2 separate regions of the Homo sapiens genome follow, and region 2 is linked to region 1. The links are contacts of gene promoters, found by promoter capture Hi-C in human tissues and cell types (Jung and others, 2019). All regions are on one chromosome and are shown on one strand. The core of a region is centred on a gene start or on the middle of the fragment in contact, and the rest is flanking DNA. Distances in the headings are between cores, read along the strand shown. Region 1 holds the start of APC2 (APC regulator of Wnt signaling pathway 2). Region 2 holds the start of ONECUT3 (one cut homeobox 3).

The links. Contacts are between HindIII fragments. The study calls those that stand out against the background at their distance.
Region 2: the fragment with the promoter of ONECUT3 here is called in contact with the fragment with the promoter of APC2 in region 1 in 1 of the 25 tissues and cell types used here (H1 embryonic stem cells).

Annotation. Positions count from the first base shown.
Region 1 is chr19:1,448,355-1,451,370 of GRCh38, forward strand. APC2 (APC regulator of Wnt signaling pathway 2) reads left to right here and starts at 1,767. Exons shown (of 15, transcript NM_005883.3): 1 at 1,767-1,984. RefSeq lists a silencer at 1,614-1,813. The HindIII fragment of the contact is 30,284 bases long and covers 1-3,016 here.
Region 2 is chr19:1,752,133-1,754,958 of GRCh38, forward strand. It overlaps ONECUT3 (one cut homeobox 3), which reads left to right and starts at 1,374. Exons shown (of 2, transcript NM_001080488.2): 1 at 1,374-2,722. The coding sequence starts at 1,531. The HindIII fragment of the contact is 24,245 bases long and covers 1-2,826 here.

The DNA.
Region 1 (3,016 bases), core at 517-3,016:
CGACCAACACGGTGAAACCCCCTCTCTATTAAAAATACAAAAATTAGCTGGCAAGGTGGTACATGCCTGTAATCCCAGTTACTGAGGAGTCTGAGGCAGGAGAATCACTTGAACCCAGGAGGCGGAGGTTGCGGTGAGCCGAGATGGCGCCACTGCACTGCAGCCTGGGGGACAGAGCAAGACCCCATCTAAAAAAAAAAAAAAAAAAAGGCCGGGCGTGGTGGTTCACGCCTGTAATCCCAGCACTTTGGGAGGCCGAGGCGGGTGGATCACGAGGTCAGGAGATCGAGACCATCCTGGCTAACGTGAAATCCCGTCTCTACTAAAAAATACAAAAAATTAGCCTGGGCGTGGTGGCGGGCGCCTGTAGTCCCAGCTACTCGGGAGGCTGAGGCAGGAGAATGGCGTGAACCTGGGAGGCGGAGCTTGCAGTGAGCCGAGAACGTGCCACTGCACTCCAGCCTGGGCTACAGAGCAAGACTCCGTCTCAAAAAAAAAAAAAAGAAAAAAAAGAAAAAGAAAAAAGAAAAGATCCCCTGTGTCTGCCCACTGCATTGCCTCCCCAGACCCAACCAGTGGGGACAGCTGCGTCCAGCTCTGGGGGCTCCCAGACAGCCAGGCCGAAGGGCTCTCAGCCCCTGGCAGTGCTGGCCCGGGACAAGGCCCTCGGGTCTTCAGCTCAAGGCCCAACAGGAAACAGCACGGGTCCTCCCTTGCCTTTGTCTACGGGGCCTTGAATACTCGGACCTTCCCACCCTCTCCTATCATTCCCTGCACCAGCCCTTGCAGAATCTTCCGCCTCCTCTCCATTTTACAGAGGAGGAAACCGAGGGTTGAGCGGCGAATGATTTGCCCTGCCTGCCCAGCACGGAAAAAAATCACTCTTCTGGCCCCAGTCGCCTCCCTTTCTGTGCTGTGAGTCTGTGTCCAGAGCAGGAAGGGCTGCTCCGAGCTGCAGGGACGGGCTCTGTGTGTTAAACCTTCAAATGGCTTCCAGGGACTCATGGAGCATCCAGGACACCTGGAGATGGCGACTCCTGGGACCCCTGGCCCTTCCCTCCTCTGGCCTTCGGTCCGTGAGGGTGAATTAAGTGTGCCACCCACCAGGGGCAGAGACACATGGAGACAGAGATTGAGAGACAGAGAACAGAGGGGGAGACAGAAAGAGAGAGGGACATGAAGAGCAACGGAGTTACAGGAGGATCTGACGCTCCGTTGGGGAGACAGGGAGAAATGTGGGGAGATGCAGCGTCCCAGGTGCTCCCCAGTGGCCCTGCCCCTCCTCCCCTCTCCCCTCCCCACCAGGCAGGACCCTCAGGGAGCTCCAGCCTGGACCCGAACCCTGTCCCACCCTGACGCACCTGCACCAGGCCAGGCTGGACCTGTGGGGTGGGTGCAGGCCTGGCCCCAGCCCGGCCACTGCCCTGGAAACCCCTCCCCCGCCAAGATGCTGATGTAACATCCAGGATTTGATGTTTTACTCTCCAATTCTGCAAATCCAGACGCAGGAGGTTTTAAGAGGCCGTTGCACCCTGCAATAAAGTGCGGGACACAGGAATCTTGGTCCTCGGGGCACCCCCTTCCCTCGGGGGGGTTTCGCCCCCCGCACTCACGGCCCCTGAGCCCGCGCGGAGGCCCGACGCCCCGCGGCCGACGCCGGTCCCCGCCCCGGGCCGCCATTGGCTGTTGCCATGGCACCAGCCCGTCTTCCCGCGCCCTCATTGGCTGTCTCACCCGCATCCCTCATCCCGCATCCTCCCCCGCTCGCGGTGGTCTCGCCCAGCGCTAGGAGCGGCAGCGCCGCCTGCCCAGGCCCGGACCGGGCTTTGTCCGCCCCGGAGCCCCTGCCCGCGCCGCGGAGACCCCGGAGCCCGCGCGCTCCGAGGCCACCCCGGGCCGGGATTTCCGGTGGGGCCCGCGGAGCCGCGCAGAGGGAGGAGGCCCCAGACCCAGGCGCCCCGCCAGCCCAGCTGCACGTAAGCGGGTGTGTGTCCTCGGGGAGGAGGGCAGGGGCGCGACCTCCGCCTCGCGTCGAGGTTTCCATCCCTGGCTCTCAGCATTGCCCGTCAGCACAGACTCTGGACCCTCCATTTCCCCAGAGTGGGAGCTGGAGGGGAAACTGAGTCCCGGTGAGCTGGGCGTCAGCGTTTCTGCAGCCGGTCCTGCGCACACACCCACTCACGGGCTTCACCATCCGGACCTCCCTGAGGTGATCGGAGGAAGGGATGGGCAGGCCAGTGGTGTGTCTTCGGGGGTGTTGCTGCACCTCTCTGGGTGTCAGTTTCCCTCTCTGGAAAGAGGGGGTTTGGATTAAAGGAAGGAGAAAGGCCCCTTTGGGCCTGGCTTCCCATACCTGTGCCTCCCTCCCCTGAAATGCAGCCCGCTCAATAAGACCAGCCCCCAGTCATGGTGCCTTCAGGGAGTGATCGCTCAGGAAGGCCCCCAGGAGGCTACACGATGCAACCTGGGGGTGAAAGTAGGCAGAAGAGCTTCGTGGAAGAAGCTGCACTGTGTGGGATGGCAGGACTTAGAAAAGGTGCTCTAGGCAGGGCAACTGCACGTGCAAAGGCCTGAGAGAAGAGAGCCTCCAGCCTCTAAGTGAGTCGCGGTGTACATGGAGGAGTCGGAGCGTATCCTGAGGGCACTGGGGAGCCATGGAAGGTGTTTGAGCATGGGAGAAATGGGATCTCACTTGTGACGTTTAAAGCTCCCTCTGGCTGTGCATGGGGGACTGTGGGAGGCCAGGAAGAGGCTGATCAGAATGTCCTCACAGAGGGGTGTCAGGAGCTGGGGGAGGCATGATCCCGCTGGGCAGAGCTTGGAGGGACTAGCTTAGTCTGATGAGGATGCAGAAATGACCACCGAATGTGGGGAGAGGGAAGGTGTCTGAGGCTTGGCTTCGGTCAGCTGAGAAGAACCACGTGGGGGAGGCCTGGGTTTGGGGAGCAGGAGGCAGACATGTGTTGCTTTGCACGTCATCTGGTCCTTCCACCTGGCTGGGCATGGGATGGTGACC
Region 2 (2,826 bases), core at 124-2,623, 300 kb after region 1:
AGAAAATCGCATCTCCAATGTGTAGCCACGTCTACAGGGGCCAGGAAATCTGGATGCAGGTGCAAAGCTGGGGCCGGGGTTTGCCCAGAAGGTTTGCACCAAAGGGGAAGTGACAGCCTGACTGTGTCCTCCCCTCTTCCTTCAGCTTTGAGCCCTGATGCAACCCTCTGAGATGGGGGTAACTGGGGGCTCCCGCGAACCGACTGCCTGACCCATCCCCTTCCTCTTCTAGAAAGTGCACAAGCGTTACCCCGGGGGTGGGGGGGGCAGAGGCAACGGGGAAGCAGGAAGGGGCTGAGGCTGGTTTTGGACTCTGCACCGTAGCCTCTGGCCTACAAGACAGAGCATCCTCTAGATTCTGGTCTGGCCCCTCCAGATCCGCAGCCCTGACCTTACCCCACTGGCGGGATCTAGTCCCCTGGGGGTCTCTCTGATTATAGGAGCCCTTCCCCCATCTATCCCAGTTCCCAGGGGCCCCTGGGGCTCACCTGTCTCCAGGTGCTGAGAAAAAGGAGACCCCTGCCTCCCCCCACATTGAAGAGAAGCCCCAGGGACAAAGAGGAGTTTGCACCAGCGACGTCTCAGAAGACAGGGGATCCAGCCTCAGCCTCCGTGGGCTGGAGGGTGACAGGGGCTCTTAGTGGTCACCCCCAGGCTCCAGTGCCTCCAGCGGCCGCACTGTAAAAAGGCCCTGCAATTAGAAGGGGCCTTTGGCAACCCCGAGGCCGGGCAGCCCATTGTACAGTTGGGGAAACGGAGGCCCAGGTGCCCACACATGGGCAGAGGCTGACCCCTGGGGCGCACGGAGGCCCTGACCTAGCCTTAGGACCTCCCTTTTCCCCCACTTCCTCCACAAAGAGGTTGTGGGAAGGGGGCTGTGACTCCGTAGGTGTGAGTGGGAGTCGGGGGAAGCTGAGCTTGCAGTGGGGATCTAGCTCCTGGGGGTCTGTAGGGAACGGGGGGGGGGGGGGACACGTACATTACAGGCGACCGTCCAGCCACACTCCCAGAAACTCCCTGGAGATGGACTTGGGGGTGCCAGGCAGAAAGCCACATCTGGGACTCTGGAGAGAATCACACAGAGACGCGAAATCGGAGACTCTGGGTCGAGGCCCCCAGCCCCACCTGGGCAGAGTCTGTCCTCGGACCCCCGCCCGCTGTCCCCCGGGTACGGCCTGCCCCAGCGGGCGCGGGCGGGCGCAGTGGCCAGGGACGCCGAAGCCCCAAGTCTGGCCGACTTCGGCCTGCTTGGTGCTCGAGTGGGGCCGGGGCGGGCGGAGAGCGAGGCTGCGGGAGGCAGCGGTGGCAGGAGCGGGTGGGCGGGGGCGCTGACGTCAGACCCGGGCCCGGGCGCCGGCGGCCGCTCCCCTGCCACATCCTGGTGGCCGCGCTCGCAGCCGGGCCGGGCCGTGCGCCGCGCAGCCTGGCAGCCTCGCGCGCAGCCACCGGGGAGCGGGCGGGAGTCATGCAGCGGCCTTGAGCACTAGGGGCCGGCGCTGAGGAGCGCGCGCGGCGGGAGGGCAGCCGAGCATGGAGCTGAGCCTGGAGAGCCTGGGGGGCCTGCACAGCGTGGCCCACGCGCAGGCGGGCGAGCTGCTGAGCCCGGGCCACGCGCGCTCGGCGGCGGCGCAGCACCGCGGCCTGGTGGCGCCCGGGCGCCCGGGCCTGGTGGCCGGCATGGCGAGCCTGCTGGACGGCGGCGGCGGCGGCGGCGGTGGGGGCGCCGGGGGCGCGGGCGGCGCGGGCAGCGCGGGCGGCGGCGCGGACTTCCGCGGGGAACTGGCGGGCCCGCTGCACCCGGCAATGGGCATGGCCTGCGAGGCGCCGGGCCTGGGCGGCACCTACACGACGCTCACGCCCCTGCAGCACCTGCCGCCGCTCGCGGCCGTGGCCGACAAGTTCCACCAGCACGCGGCGGCCGCGGCCGTGGCCGGGGCGCACGGCGGCCATCCCCACGCGCACCCGCACCCGGCGGCCGCGCCGCCCCCGCCACCCCCGCCGCAGCGTCTGGCGGCCAGCGTGAGCGGCAGCTTCACCCTCATGCGCGACGAGCGGGCGGCGCTCGCCTCCGTGGGCCACCTCTACGGACCCTACGGCAAGGAGCTGCCCGCCATGGGGTCGCCGCTGTCGCCGCTGCCCAACGCGCTGCCGCCCGCGCTGCACGGCGCCCCGCAGCCCCCGCCGCCGCCACCACCCCCGCCGCTGGCCGCCTACGGCCCGCCAGGCCACCTGGCTGGGGACAAGCTGCTGCCGCCCGCCGCCTTCGAGCCGCACGCCGCGCTGCTGGGACGCGCGGAGGACGCACTGGCCCGCGGGCTGCCCGGAGGCGGCGGCGGCACAGGCAGCGGCGGAGCGGGCAGCGGGAGCGCCGCGGGGCTGCTGGCGCCGCTGGGCGGGCTGGCGGCGGCCGGGGCGCACGGGCCGCACGGGGGAGGCGGCGGCCCCGGCGGGAGCGGCGGCGGCCCCAGCGCGGGCGCAGCGGCCGAGGAGATCAACACCAAGGAGGTGGCGCAGCGCATCACGGCGGAGCTGAAGCGCTACAGCATCCCGCAGGCAATCTTCGCGCAGCGGATCCTGTGTCGCTCTCAGGGCACGCTCTCCGACCTGCTGCGCAACCCCAAGCCGTGGAGCAAGCTCAAATCCGGCCGCGAGACCTTCCGCAGGATGTGGAAGTGGCTGCAGGAGCCAGAGTTCCAGCGCATGTCGGCGCTGCGCTTGGCAGGTAGGAGCGTGGCGCGCAGGGCCAGACCCTGGGGGCGCCGGCTCTGGACTCCCGAGCACCTAGCGGGGCGGCGGCCGATGCCCGGGGCCAGCGCCCCAAGCCCC